Linked DNA regions of Homo sapiens: all the other regions are linked to region 1. Evidence: promoter capture Hi-C in human tissues and cell types (Jung and others, 2019). All regions are on one chromosome and are shown on one strand. Each heading gives the region's core, a stretch centred on a gene start or on the middle of the fragment in contact. The rest is flanking DNA. Distances are from core to core; before and after follow the strand shown. Region 1 holds the start of THAP11 (THAP domain containing 11). Region 2 overlaps FHOD1 (formin homology 2 domain containing 1). Region 3 overlaps KCTD19 (potassium channel tetramerization domain containing 19).

What was found. Contacts are between HindIII fragments. The study calls those that stand out against the background at their distance.
Region 2: a fragment that was not itself captured here is called in contact with the fragment with the promoter of THAP11 in region 1 in 1 of the 25 tissues and cell types used here (psoas muscle).
Region 3: a contact is called between a fragment that was not itself captured here and the fragment with the promoter of THAP11 in region 1, in 1 of the 25 tissues and cell types used here (aorta).

What each region holds. Positions count from the first base shown.
Region 1 is chr16:67,839,602-67,844,101 of GRCh38, forward strand. THAP11 (THAP domain containing 11) reads left to right here and starts at 2,719. Exons shown (of 1, transcript NM_020457.3): 1 at 2,719-4,500. The coding sequence starts at 2,954. The coding sequence ends at 3,898. All of the region lies in intron 1 of CENPT (centromere protein T), which reads right to left. RefSeq lists enhancers at 2,433-2,482, 2,935-3,681, 3,393-3,552, 3,993-4,042 and a silencer at 2,733-2,912. The HindIII fragment of the contact is 20,232 bases long and covers 1-4,500 here.
Region 2 is chr16:67,231,971-67,236,470 of GRCh38, forward strand. It overlaps FHOD1 (formin homology 2 domain containing 1), which reads right to left. Exons shown (of 22, transcript NM_013241.3): 12 at 2,387-2,502; 13 at 1,687-2,297; 14 at 69-224. Among named protein-coding and RNA genes, the nearest start is that of TMEM208, 7.1 kb to the left of the region's middle. RefSeq lists an enhancer at 1-387. The HindIII fragment of the contact is 6,373 bases long and covers 1-4,500 here.
Region 3 is chr16:67,319,667-67,324,166 of GRCh38, forward strand. It overlaps KCTD19 (potassium channel tetramerization domain containing 19), which reads right to left. Exons shown (of 16, transcript NM_001100915.3): 2 at 923-1,219. It also overlaps the pseudogene RN7SKP118. Among named protein-coding and RNA genes, the nearest start is that of KCTD19, 4.8 kb to the right of the region's middle. The HindIII fragment of the contact is 4,411 bases long and covers 1-4,065 here.

The DNA of each region.
Region 1 (4,500 bases), core at 1,469-3,968:
GTAGCTCACACCTATAATCCCAGCACTTTGGGAGGCCGAGGTGGGTGGATCACCTGAGGTCAGGAGTGGGAGACCAGCCAGCCCAACATGGCGAAACCCTGTCTCTACTAAAAGTACACAAAATTAGCTGGTTGTGGTGCCTGGCGCCTGTAATCCCAGCTACTTGGGAGGCTGAGGCAGGAGAATCTCTTGAACCTGGGAGGTGGAGGTTGCAGTAAGCCGAGATCGCACCACTGCACTTCAGCCTCAACAATGAGAACGAAACTCCATCTCAAATAAATAAATACATAAGTAAAAATGCAATATGTGTGTTCACGTTTATACCGTTGTATAAATGATTCACCCAAATGAATGCATATCTTTTACCAGGGGCTACACCGGCCCCATTTTGTTTTTATGTCCAATAATATAATTAGAAGTAATGTACATTAGAGGCCGGGCGCGGTGGCTCACGCCTGTAATCCCAGCACTTTGGGAGGCCGAGGCGGGCGGATCACGAAGTCAGGAGATCGAGACCATCCTGGCTAACACGGTGAAACCCCGTCTTTACTAAAAATACAAAAAAAATTAGCCGGGCACGGTGGCGGGCGCTTGTAGTCCCAGCTACTTGGGAGGCTGAGGCAGGAGAATGGCATGAACCCGGGAGGCAGAGCTTGCAGTGAGCTGAGATCGCGCCACTGCCCTCCAGCCTGGGCAACAGAGCGAGACTCCGTCTCAAAATAAAAAAAGAAAAAAAAGAAATAATATATATTAGGTTTCTATTTCATGCCTGTGATCTGCTATCAGGAGAGAAAAAAGGACAAGAAAAATTGGGAGGTGACCACGATCATGTCTTTTGTGGGAATATGCATGGAGCTGGGGGCCATTATCCTTAGCAAACTAATGCAGGAACAGAAAACCAAATACCACATATTCTCACAAGTGTGAGTTAAATGATGAGAACTCATGAACACAAAGAAGACAACAACAGACACTGGGGTCTAATTGCGGGGGGCGGGAGGAGGGAGAGGAACAGAAAAGATAACTATTGGGTACTGGGCTTAATACCTGGGTGATGAAATAATCTGTACAACAAATCGCGGTGACACGAGTTCACCTATGTAGTAAACCTTCACACGTACCCCCGAACCTAAAGTAAAAGTTTAAAAAAAATTGGGAGAAGGAAGAACTCGGCAAAGGAGGGCTAGTTTGCAGGTAATTCACCTGGAGAACTGCCTGGCCCCTCCCTGGCTTTCCACAACATTTTGTGTTCTTTAAAACATTTTCCCCCAGCCAGGCGCCGTGATCCTAGCTCACGCCTGTAATCCTAGCACTTTGGGAGGCCGAGGCGAGCAGATTGCCTGAGCTCACGAGTTCGAGACCAGCCTGAGAAACATGGCGAAACCCCGTCTCTACTAAATACAAAATACATATATATATATATATATATATATATATATATATATTAGCCGGGCATGGTGGCATGCGCCTGTAGTCCCAGCTACTCCGGAGGCTGAGGCAGGAGAATTGCTTGAACCCAGGAGGCGGAGGTTGCGGTGAGCCGAGATCTCACCATTGCACTCCAGTCTGGCGACACAGTGAGACTCCTTTACAAAAAAAAAAAAAAAAAAAAAAAAAAAAGATTCCCTCAAATAAGTTGAGGTGGGGGGAGGTGTATTGTTACAATGCAAATCCTTTCCCATAAAATCCTTTAATAGCTCTCAGTGGCCTGCAGAATAAAACCCCAAATCCTTAACATGTCCCAGTTTGGTATTTTCCTACGCTTGGCCCTACCCGGGCCACCCCTTTCCAGGCTCTTTAATGGCGGAGCCTAGCTCTTTTCTGCCATGTGGCCTTACAGACTGGTTCCTGGGACAAGAATTGGCTACTTCTCCCTACCCAAGCTTTCGTTCGTTTTTTTATTCCTGGCCCCCACCACCTCCCCCCCATTTCTCTGCTCTCCTGTTAATTCCTTTGGAGCGATTACTATTTGTGAGTAGACATCCATTCGCGTGCATTCAGATCTATTATCCAAAAGACAGACGCTTATCCGTCTAGGTAGTCAGGCTCCAAGAGAGGAGCCCAGTCGGTCTGACTCCCGCAAACTCCCGGCACCGTGTCAGCCACATAGTAGGCGTCTACTGGAGACTTTGTTTAGATCAGTTAGTCAACGCAGGCAGCAGCTGAATCAGGAGAGAGTCCCCAACGCAAAGAAAGGGGCTCCTGAGACCCTTCGGGGCGCCGAGGCCCAGGTTTCGTCTCCCTCTGCTGCAGCAATGCCGTCGACTCAAAGGGGCTCGGGGCTGGGGAACTGGTTCTGGCAAACAGCACAACCTCGCCCGAATCCTGGTCCGCAGTAACTCGATCTTTCCCTTAGGCGGCGCTTCGGAGGGAAGGCGCCTAGTTCAGCGCGAGGCATCACGGGATTTGTAGTCTCCGTGGGCATATACCCACCGCGCTTGCGCACCGGTGAGGCGCGCACCGCCCCGCTCCACGCCCCTATCAGGATTCGGGTCCTCGTGAGGAGCAGTCCAGGCGACAGCGTTCCAACCTAATACGCCTCTCTCGCCCGCCGGGGACAAGACGGGCTGGGGAAAGAATCTGCTCTTCGGAGGCTATCGCAGTGCCTTGGAAGGCGGCAGGAATCCGCACACACCCGCCCCGGAAGTGAGCCGCTTCTGGCGCGGGGCATTGTGGGGGGCGTAGTCTCTTTCTCAGGCGGTCCTTCGCGGCGTCCCCGGGGCCCACTCCCGAGCGCAGGCGGGCAGCCAGGCGGGCGGCGCGGCGCGGGCCGGCAGGAAGCGTATTCTGGGCACGGGGCGCCGGGCGGGCCGGCTGCGCCGAGCGGCAGTGGTGGGATACCACCCAAGGCCTCGCGCGGCGCCGCCCGTCGAGGGGCGGGCGGCGGCGTAGCCACTGGGCCGTCGAAGAGCGCAGGAGGCCGGTGGGCCGGGCCGGGCCGCGCGGCGCAGCCATGCCTGGCTTTACGTGCTGCGTGCCAGGCTGCTACAACAACTCGCACCGGGACAAGGCGCTGCACTTCTACACGTTTCCAAAGGACGCTGAGTTGCGGCGCCTCTGGCTCAAGAACGTGTCGCGTGCCGGCGTCAGTGGGTGCTTCTCCACCTTCCAGCCCACCACAGGCCACCGTCTCTGCAGCGTTCACTTCCAGGGCGGCCGCAAGACCTACACGGTACGCGTCCCCACCATCTTCCCGCTGCGCGGCGTCAATGAGCGCAAAGTAGCGCGCAGACCCGCTGGGGCCGCGGCCGCCCGCCGCAGGCAGCAGCAGCAACAGCAGCAGCAGCAGCAACAGCAGCAACAGCAGCAGCAGCAGCAACAGCAGCAGCAGCAGCAGCAGCAGCAGCAGTCCTCACCCTCTGCCTCCACTGCCCAGACTGCCCAGCTGCAGCCGAACCTGGTATCTGCTTCCGCGGCCGTGCTTCTCACCCTTCAGGCCACTGTAGACAGCAGTCAGGCTCCGGGATCCGTACAGCCGGCGCCCATCACTCCCACTGGAGAAGACGTGAAGCCCATCGATCTCACAGTGCAAGTGGAGTTTGCAGCCGCAGAGGGCGCAGCCGCTGCGGCCGCCGCGTCGGAGTTACAGGCTGCTACCGCAGGGCTGGAGGCTGCCGAGTGCCCTATGGGCCCCCAGTTGGTGGTGGTAGGGGAAGAGGGCTTCCCTGATACTGGCTCCGACCATTCGTACTCCTTGTCGTCAGGCACCACGGAGGAGGAGCTCCTGCGCAAGCTGAATGAGCAGCGGGACATCCTGGCTCTGATGGAAGTGAAGATGAAAGAGATGAAAGGCAGCATTCGCCACCTGCGTCTCACTGAGGCCAAGCTGCGCGAAGAACTGCGTGAGAAGGATCGGCTGCTTGCCATGGCTGTCATCCGCAAGAAGCACGGAATGTGAACTGGTGCCCCGGCAGCCTGCTGGACTCCCAGACCCCATCCAGCCAGGGGACCGCAGGCCATTGTTGAACTCCTCTATACTCCTGGGCACTGGTTGACAGTACTGAGGCTTAAGGCAGCTGGACTCTCTTGCTGGTGACCTGGCATCCTCAATTGTTTCCTCCTGAAGTGGAAGCTGGGGCCTTAGACTCTGCCCTGGTGACACCAGCAATTATGACTTTGTCTACCCTTCCTCCCCAGTTATTGTTGCAGATTCTGGTTAAGCAGAGGCTTCAGAACCACTGAACTTGAAACTTACCCTCTAGGGATGCAGGTGGGATGTCCAGGGACTATAGGTTTGGGAAAACCATACCTTAAGGTTGGTCAGCAGTCAGACAACTCTAATGTGTGTAGTGATAAGAGATTCAAGTAACATCAGTTCTCCTCCTTTTCATGCTTTTCCTTCCCAGGTGCAGCCTGTGATTCTGATGGGGACTGGTAAATCTGTGCCTCTGCCTCCTAGGACTTATTTTCCCAGGAGGCCATTTACAAGGGGATCTGGATGACCTGCTGATGGAGATCCAGCTTGCCAGGGACTTAGGTTTATCCTGTTTTGTTTGCTAC
Region 2 (4,500 bases), core at 1,077-3,576, 610 kb before region 1:
AGGAAATGCCCACCTACCAAAGGAGAAGGCCAGACCTCCCCCCAACACCCATAGCTGGGTGACCTCACCTCAATGCCATCCTTGCTGACAGCAAACTCATCAAAGTTGAGCAGAGCAGCCTTAATGACATGCACAGGTGGCAGTGTGGTTAGGCCGATGTTGATGGCGTTGCTGCGCTTGGGGTCCAGCACTGTGGTCATTGTCCGGCGGCCCTCTCCAGCTTTCTGCATGGTTGGGGGAAGGGCAGTGTAAGACTGAGGAAGGGGGCCTGACGCGGTGGCTCACGCCTGTAATCCCAGCACTTTGGGAGGCCAAGGCGGGTGGACCACGAGGTCAGGAGATCGAGACCATCCTGGCTAACATGGTGAAACCCCATCTCTACTAAAAATACAAAAAAAATTAGCTGGGCGTGGTGGCGGGCACCTGTAGTCCCAGCTACTCGGGAGGCTGAGGCAGGAGAATGGCGTGAACCCGGGAGGCGGAGCTTGCAGTGAGCTGAGATCACACCATTGCACTACATCCTGGGTGACTGAGCAAGACTCTGTCTCAAAAAAAAAAAAAAAAAAAAAAAGACTGAGGAAGGGACTAGCTGGGACAGCAACCTCAGAGGGCACTCCAAGGCCCTCCTCTAGATTGCCAAATGATCCCACAACTGACAAACTGGCAACCTGGAATGTGTAAGTCATGGGGATGAGCTTAGATTCTTTTGAGACAGGGCCTGGCTCTACCATCTAGGCTGGAGTGCAGTGGTGCCATCATCGCCCACTGCAGCTTATCTTCTGGGATTTTCCTGCCTCAGCCTCCCAAGTAGCTGGGATTACAGGCGTGTACCACCATACCCAACTATTTTTTTTTTTAACATTTTTTTTTCCGCCTCCCAGGTTCAAGCAATTCTTTTGCCTCAGCCTCCCAAGTAGCTGGTATTGCAGGCATGAGCCACCACGCCCAGCTCATTTTCATATTTTTAGTAGAGACGGGGTTTCACCATGTTGGCCAGGCTGGTCTCAAACTCCTGGCCTCAAGTAATCTGCCTGCCTTGGCCTCCCAAAGTGCTGGGATTACAGGGGTGAGCCACCATGCCCGGCTAATTTTTTTTTTAACATTTATTTATTTTTATTTATTTAGTTATTTTTGAGACGAAGTCTTGCTCTTGTCCCCCAGGCTGGAGTGCAATGGTGCGATCTCGACTCACTGCAACCTCTACCTCCCGGGTTCAAGTGATTCTCCTGCCTCAGCCTCCCGAGTAGCTGGGATTACAGGTGCCCGCCACCACGCTTGGCTAATTTTGTGTTTTTAGTAGAGACGGGGTTTTGCTAATTTGACCAGGCTGGTCTCGAACTCCTGACCTCAAATGATCCACCTGCCTCGGCCTCCCAAGGTCCTGGGATTACAGGCATGAGCCACTACACCCAGACCAACTTTTAGTAGAGATAATGTCTCACTATGTTGCACAGGCTGGTCTCAAACTCTTGGATTACAGGTGTGAGCCACCATGCCCGGCCACATTTAGATTCTAGTTGGGGCACTGCTGATCCCTTGTTAGGAGACCTTGGACAATTTCCTACTCCTTTCTTTGCCTTGGTTTCCCCATGTGGGAAGTGAGTGACTAGCTCCAACAGGTCAGATCCTTAAGCTCTGATTCCCTCCTGCCTCCCTTGGGGCTACCTTGCAGATGAGTGGATTTACCTTGGAGGGCAGCACCTCTTTGGCACGAGACTCAAAGAGGTGTTCCAGTCGGGCCGTGTCCACTGAGACAGGGTCCAGTGAAGCCCAGAGGGTGGCGCAGGGCCCAAAGCGGCTTGCAGAGACTCCATGGCCCCCAGCCAGCTTCAGCTCACGCCAGAAAAGTTTTACTGTCTTCCTCTTAGTGGGGAGGGCTGAGCTGTCAGGCACTGAATGGGGAAGAGGGGCAGCCAGAGGTAGAGGTGGAGGTGGTGGGAAGGGGCCTTTGATGGGTGGGGGAGGTGGAAGTGGGGGAGGGGGGGGTACTCCCGAGAGCAGGGGCAGTGGGGGTGAGGGAGCTGGGATGTCTTTCCCAGCCTCCACAGACTCTACATTCAGCATGTCCTGGTCTTCATCCTCCCCTAGATCTGAAAAGTCCAGGTCCCCAATAGAGAGCCTGGGTGCACGGGTAGGGAGCTCCCAGATGGGCTCAGCCTTGGGGCTTGCTGGTATCAGTGGCTCCTTGGGCTCTGGTGCAAGGCTTCGCTGGGCCCGGAGCAGGACACAGGGGGCAGGGCTCTGGGGTGTTCTGGCTGCAGGGGCTGTCTCTGGGGAGTCCCAGAGTTGCCGGGCATCTAAAGAAAGGGAAGGAGCTGTCAGTGCCATGCCCCCTGTGGGGCAACAAAGCAACAGGCAGGCTCTGCCTGCTCACCCACCTACTCACCTGGGTGTCCACCCGCCTCATTGGGCATGGCCCCGGCAAGTGTCTCTGCCCGGCCCTGGGCCAGCGCAACCTGCTTCTCTGTTTCTGCTGCCGCCACATTCTCCAGGAACCGGGCTCTGAGGGAAGGTGCTTGTCACTGACAGCGTCTGACACACCCCAGCCCAGGTGTACATGCCTTGCTGAGCCCCTGGACACCACCCCCAATTGCAGGCACGCACAGACACACAGGGAACAGTCCATGCGCTGAGCAGACCAGAACCACACCCCCCCCAAGGCCAGCCCCTCTTCAGTCCTCCACATCTGGGGAGGATTACTACCAACCCAGCATTCCCAGGTGAAAACACAGGGAGAGGATCTACTTAACATCTAACTTGCAACCTCGTTCATGTTCACTGTCCTGGTTTTTTTTTGGTTGGTTTTTTTTTTAGAGACAGGGTCTCACTCTGTCAGTCACCCAGGCTGGAGTACAGTGGTGTGATCATAGCTCACTGCAGCCTCACTCTCCTGGGCTTGACCCTCAGCCTCCCAAGTAGCTGGGACTACAGACATGTGCCACCACGTCCAGCTGATTTTTTAATTTTTTTGAGGAGACAGGGTCTCACTGTGTTGTTCAGGCTGGCCTTGAATTCCTGGCCTCAAGCAGTCCTCCCACCTCAGCCTCCTGAAGTGCTGAGATTACAGGTGTGAATGATGCACCCAGCCAAATTTTAAAAAATTTCTTTGTAGAGATGAGGTCTTACTGTGTTGCCCAGGCTGGTGTCTTGAGTCTAGACAAGGACTCTTAGAGCAGGGGAAGGGGATAGCTGTCCCAATGGGCATATCAGGCTGTCCCTCCCTTGGCATGTCTGGTAGCTTCTGGGAGCCTATGCCCAGGAAAGGGCCTGGTAAACAGGCCAGGTGCGGTGGCTCACGCTTGTAATCCCAGCACTTTGGGAGGCAGAGGTGGGTGGATTACTTGAAGTCAGGAGTTCGAGACCAGCCTGGCCAACATGGTGAAACCCTGTCTCTACTAAAAATACAAAAATTACCCAGGTATCCTGGTGCAGGCCTATAATCCCAGCTACTTGGGAGGCTGAGGCAGGAGAATTGCTTGAACCTGGGAGGCAGAGGTTGCAGTGTGCTGAGATCACACCACTGCACTCCAGCCTTGGAGACCGAGCAAGACTCTGTCTCAAAAAAAAAAAAAACAAAAAAAAAACGGATGTGGTAAACAGTGGACCCTCAGTTTATGCTGAAATAATGGGTGCAATCCAGTGTTTCTTTTCTGGCCCCTCCAGCCTCTGTCAGCTCTCAGTCCCTGCCTTTCCCTCAGCCTTAGGTTACCCCTCCACCCCCACACCACACACCACACAGCACCCTAGGTCCCCTCCCTGCTCGCTTCTGAGCTGAAGACTTGGCAGAATGAGCCCCAGGTTGGGTGTCCACATCCCCATCTCTGGCTGCTAAGGTGTTGCTATTGAAGCACAGGGACCACTGTGACCCCAGTGAATTGGTTCCCAGTGCTTAGCCTTTGGGTTACCGAGGAGGCATATGTCTGGGAGAGGATAGGCCTGAGTCCCCCAGCTTTGGTTGCATCAGGCACGTGAAACCCCTGCTGGGGGAAGCAATGCTGAAGCCCTGAGCACATGGCAGGCCTGGCAGGCCGGCCTCTGTACTTACTCCAGCCTGGCCTGCCCAGGAGGGGACTGGGGGACGGGTGGGCTCTCAGGGGCCCTGGGTAGGGGGGATGAGAGGAAGAGATGGTAACTGTGGTGTCAGCTCCATGGTTGCTCATACCCACACAGAGCTAGGCAGTGATATTGGGGTTCCTTCCCAGCCGCAGTGGGAAGTGGGGGAAGGTATGACACGAGGAAACTGGAAGTGGAGGGGAGAGACTGACGTGGAGCAGGACAGGGTGCTGGAAGAGACAGAGGCAGCAGAACAAGGGAGTGACAGATAGTGGGCGGGAGACATGACAAGAGGCAAAGACAGGCAGAACGTCGGAGGAGACAAAGGAAACCACAGGAGGAGGAGATCCAGTCAGAGCCGAACCCCACCCGCTGGCAGTCACTTACCAAACGGAAGCAGTTTGGTGAAGTCTGGAAAGAGAGAGAGAGAAAGCACGCGTTTGGGCA
Region 3 (4,500 bases), core at 610-3,109, 520 kb before region 1:
AGTAAAGGTATTTAAAGCTCTTATAATAATAATAATAATAATAATAATAAAGTTTCTTGGAAGACAAAGAAGTGATGGTAAAGGAAAGATTCTGCAGAACTTGTTTTTTTTTTTCTCTCTCTTGACATTTGGCCCAAGATTAGAACTTTTTGCTTTGGTGTAAATGCATGTTGTGTACCTAACAGACACAATGAGAGGTGATATTCTTGATAAATCTTTTAGATTTTAAATCTCAGACATGATGTACATAGCAAATCCTAAAATATCTAAAGTGTTCTCCTTTTAAGATTCAAAAAACAAAAAACAAGAAGTAGCTTAATATAGGATTTTCAAGAGCCAGGGGCACCCTCTCAGTGGATAGTAAATCCCATTCTGGGTCCATGGTGGCTGCTAGTCTAACTAAAGCACAGTTGGGATGAAATCATTTATTAAGAACATATAGGCGGGGTGTAGTGGCTCATGCCGGTAATCCCAGCTCTTAGGGAGGCTGAGGGAGCACTTAGGGAGGCCAATTAGAGAGGACGACTTGAGCCCAGGAGTTCAAGACCAATCTGGTCAACATGGAAAGGATTGGCCGGGCATGGTGGCATGCACCTGTGTTCCCAGCTACTCAGAGGGACTGAGGTGGGAGGTGGGAAGATCCTTTGGGCTTGGGAGGTGGAGGTTGCAGTGAGCTGTGATTGCAGCAGACACCCTGTCTCGAAAAAACAAAAGCAGGTAATTTCAGTGTATTGTTTATTACTTTTTTTTCCTTTTTACTCACCCCTATACTAATGAGGAAATTATTTATTACTTTAACACACTTATTACATTTGCCCATTAAGAGGGTCATCTCAGCAACCAATATATAACAGGAAACAATATTTAGTGATGTAAAGCCATGTTACTGATCCACCACTCCCAGAAAACAAGAGCATCTTACCTGCAGCAAAGGCATCAGCTGCAAACCCAATGCTTGCTCATACAGCAAGTTCAGTTCTGCACAACTGGAGAAGGAGAGTTTGGAGGTGTAGAGGTAATAGTGCACGTGCCTAAATGTGGAACCATCTCTGTCGATAAATAGCCTCTGGCTTTCTGAAGAGGTCAAGGCTGAAGCCTCTTTCCACAGCAGGGAGTCTGGAAACTGAGAGAGTTTGCTTCTGGGAACTGAGAAATGCCAGCCCCCTACGTTGAAATGAAACAAGTCCTCTGCTGATTCATGAGCCATGCCAGACTCCTCCTAAAGGGGGAATGAAAAAGAGATCTACGCAAGAAAAAGAAATAAAAAGGCATCCAGATTGAAAAGGTAGAAATAAACTATCTCTGTTTGCTGATGACATGATCTTGTATATAAAAAATCCTAAGGAATTCACCAGAAAACTATTAGAAATAAGTCCAGGCCAGGCATGGTGGTTCACACCTGTAATCCAAGCACTTTGGGAGCCTGAGGTGGGAAGGTGGCTTGAGACCAGGAGTTTGAGGTTGCAGTGAGCTATGATTGTGCCACTGTACTCTGGCCTAACAGAGCAAGATCCTGTCTCAAAAAAGAAAAACAAACAAAAAAATGAGCCCAACAAGGTTGAAAGATGCAGAGCAATATTTAAAAATGTTGTATTTTTATACTTCAGCAATGAACAATCTGAAAGTGAAATTAAGAAAACAATTCAATTCCATTTACAATAGCATCAAAAATAACATACTTAGGAATAAATTTAACAAAAGAATGAAATACATGTGCACTGGAAACTTCAAAACATTGTTGAAAATTTAAAAGACCTAAATAAATGAAAAAATATCTCATGCTCATGGATTGGAAGATTTAATATCGTTAAGATGGCAATAGTCTCCCAATTGATTTACAAATTCAACACAATCTCTGTGAAAATCCTGACTTTTTGCAAAAATTGAAAAACTGATGCTAAAATTCATATGAAAATACAAGGGATCCAGAATAGCTAAAACAGTCTTGAAAAAAGGAGAACGTTTAAGAAGTCACATTTCCCACTTTTTTTTTTTAAAGGCAGACTGCCACATGCAGCGCCTCATTAGGATGTGTCTGAAGTCTTGGAAGCTTGACTACCCTACGTTCTCCTACAACGGATCTTAAGAACTTGTTTGGAGGTTCTAGCTAGGAAGAGCAGATACTTGTATACCCTTGACTGAAGACTGGTCCTCCTTTATTGGGGATGGTCGTCCTCTTTGACTGAGCACGCAGCTTCAGGAGGGACGCACGTGGAGCGTTGAGGGAAGAAGGGGACACCCGCCTAGACAGCCAGATCAGCCAAATCAACCCTGGCAATCAATGGAGTGACAGATGTCACAGCCAGATCACCCTCACATCCCACACTTTTAAAACTTATTTCAAAGCTAGATCAAGACAGTGTGCTACCAGCATAAGGATAAATATAAAGATAAGTGGAATAGAATTGAGAGTACAGAATAAAACCCCTACACTTATGATCAATTGAATTTTGATAAGCAATCCAAGATGATTCAATGGACAAAGAATAGTCCTTATTAAAAATGGTGCTGGGACAACTGCCCATCCATATGCATAAAAGATAATAATAACAATAATAATAAAGTTGGACCCCTACCTCAACCCATACACAAAAATTAGCTGCAAGTGAAACAGACCTAAAACTATAAAATCTTTTTTTTTTTTTTTTTGAGACGGAGTCTCGCTGTATCACCCAGCCTGGAGTGTAGTGGTAACAATCTCGGCTCACTGCAAACTCCACCTCCCGGGTTCACTCCATTCTCCTGCCTCAGCCTCCTGAGTAGCTGGGACTACAGGCACCCGCCACCACGCCCGGCTAATTTTTTGTATTTTTAGTAGAGATGGGGTTTTACTGTGTTAGCCAGCATGGTCTCGATCTCCTGACCTCGTGATCCACCTGCTTTGGCCTCCCAAAGTGCTGGGATTACAGGCGTGAGCCACTGCACCCAGCCTAAAACCATAAAATCTTTAGAAGAAAATAGAAAATCTTCATGACTTTGGAGTAGGCAAAACTTTCTTAGATGTGACACTAAAAGCAAAAGTGACCAAAAAAATAGATAAATGGAACTTAATCAAAATTTAAAAACATTTGTGCTTTAGAGGGCACCATCAAGAAGGTGAAAAGATAACTCACAGAATGGAACAAAATATTTGCAAATCATTTGTCTGATAAAGAACTTGTTTTTAGAATATATAAAGAACTCTTAAACTCAATAACAAAAAGACAACCAAATTTAAAAATTGGCAAAGCATCTAAATAGACATCTCTCCAAAGAATATATACAAATGACCAACAGAACGAAAAAAGATGCTCAACATCCTTAGTCATCAGAGAAATGCAAATCAAAACCCACAACAGAATACTACTTCACACCCATTAGTATGGCTACAATGAAAACAATAGGTAATAACAAGTGTCGACAAAGAAACCAGAACCCCCATGCACTGCTGGTGGAGGTGTAAAATGGTGCAGGCACTTTGGAAAACAGTTTGGTGGGTCCTGAAAATGTAAAGCATGGAGTTATTCTACTATGAGCCAGCAATTCCACTCCTAGGTGTACACTTAAGACAAATAAAGACATATGTCCACACCAAAATTTCTAGACTAATGTTCATAGAACATAATAGCCAAAAGGTTGGAATAAACCTAATGTCCATCAACTGACAGATGAGTAAACAAAATGTAGTATATCCACACAATGGAATATTGTTTGTCAATACGAAGGAATGGGATGAACATGGTGGCTTGTGCTTGTAATCCCAGCACTTTGGAAGGCTGAGGCAGGAGATTCACTTGAGCCCAGGAGTTTGAGGCTGCAGTGAGCTGTGATCGTGCCATTGCACTCCAGCCTGGGCGTCAGAGTGAGGCACGTCTCTAAAAAAATAAAAAATAAAAAGGAATGAAGTACTGATACATGATAACAACATGGATGAAATTCGAAACATTATGCCAAGGGAAAGAAGCCAAACAAAAAATCACATATGATTCCATCCACATGCAATGTGTGGACAAGGCAAATTTCTAGAGATAGAAAATAGATTAGTGGTTGCCTAGGGCTGGAGAGGCTATGGGGAGATGGGGTGTGACTACTAATGAGTATGGGATTTCTTTTGGGGATGGTGAAAATGTTCTAAAATTGATTGTGATGATAGTTGCACAACTCTGAACATACTAAAACTCACTGAATTGTACACATTAAAATGTGTGAATTGTATGGTATGTGAATTATATCTCAATAGATCTACAAAAAAAAAAAAAGATGAGGTACTGTCCATTCCATGGAGCGCATGCAGAACTCTCTTGGGATCTTACCTGCAGAGACATTACATTACTGGAGGATGAATGCTATAGATACCTTTTCATATATACAAAGGCAGCAAAGATCACTAACCTTCCTCAGCTCATTGTTAAAAGTTTAAGGTCATCTGTATATCTGTTGGACAAGAGGTTGTTGAAAAAAAAGTTTAAGGTCATCTGTACATCTGTTGGACAAGAGGTTGTTGAAAAAAAAGTTTAAGGT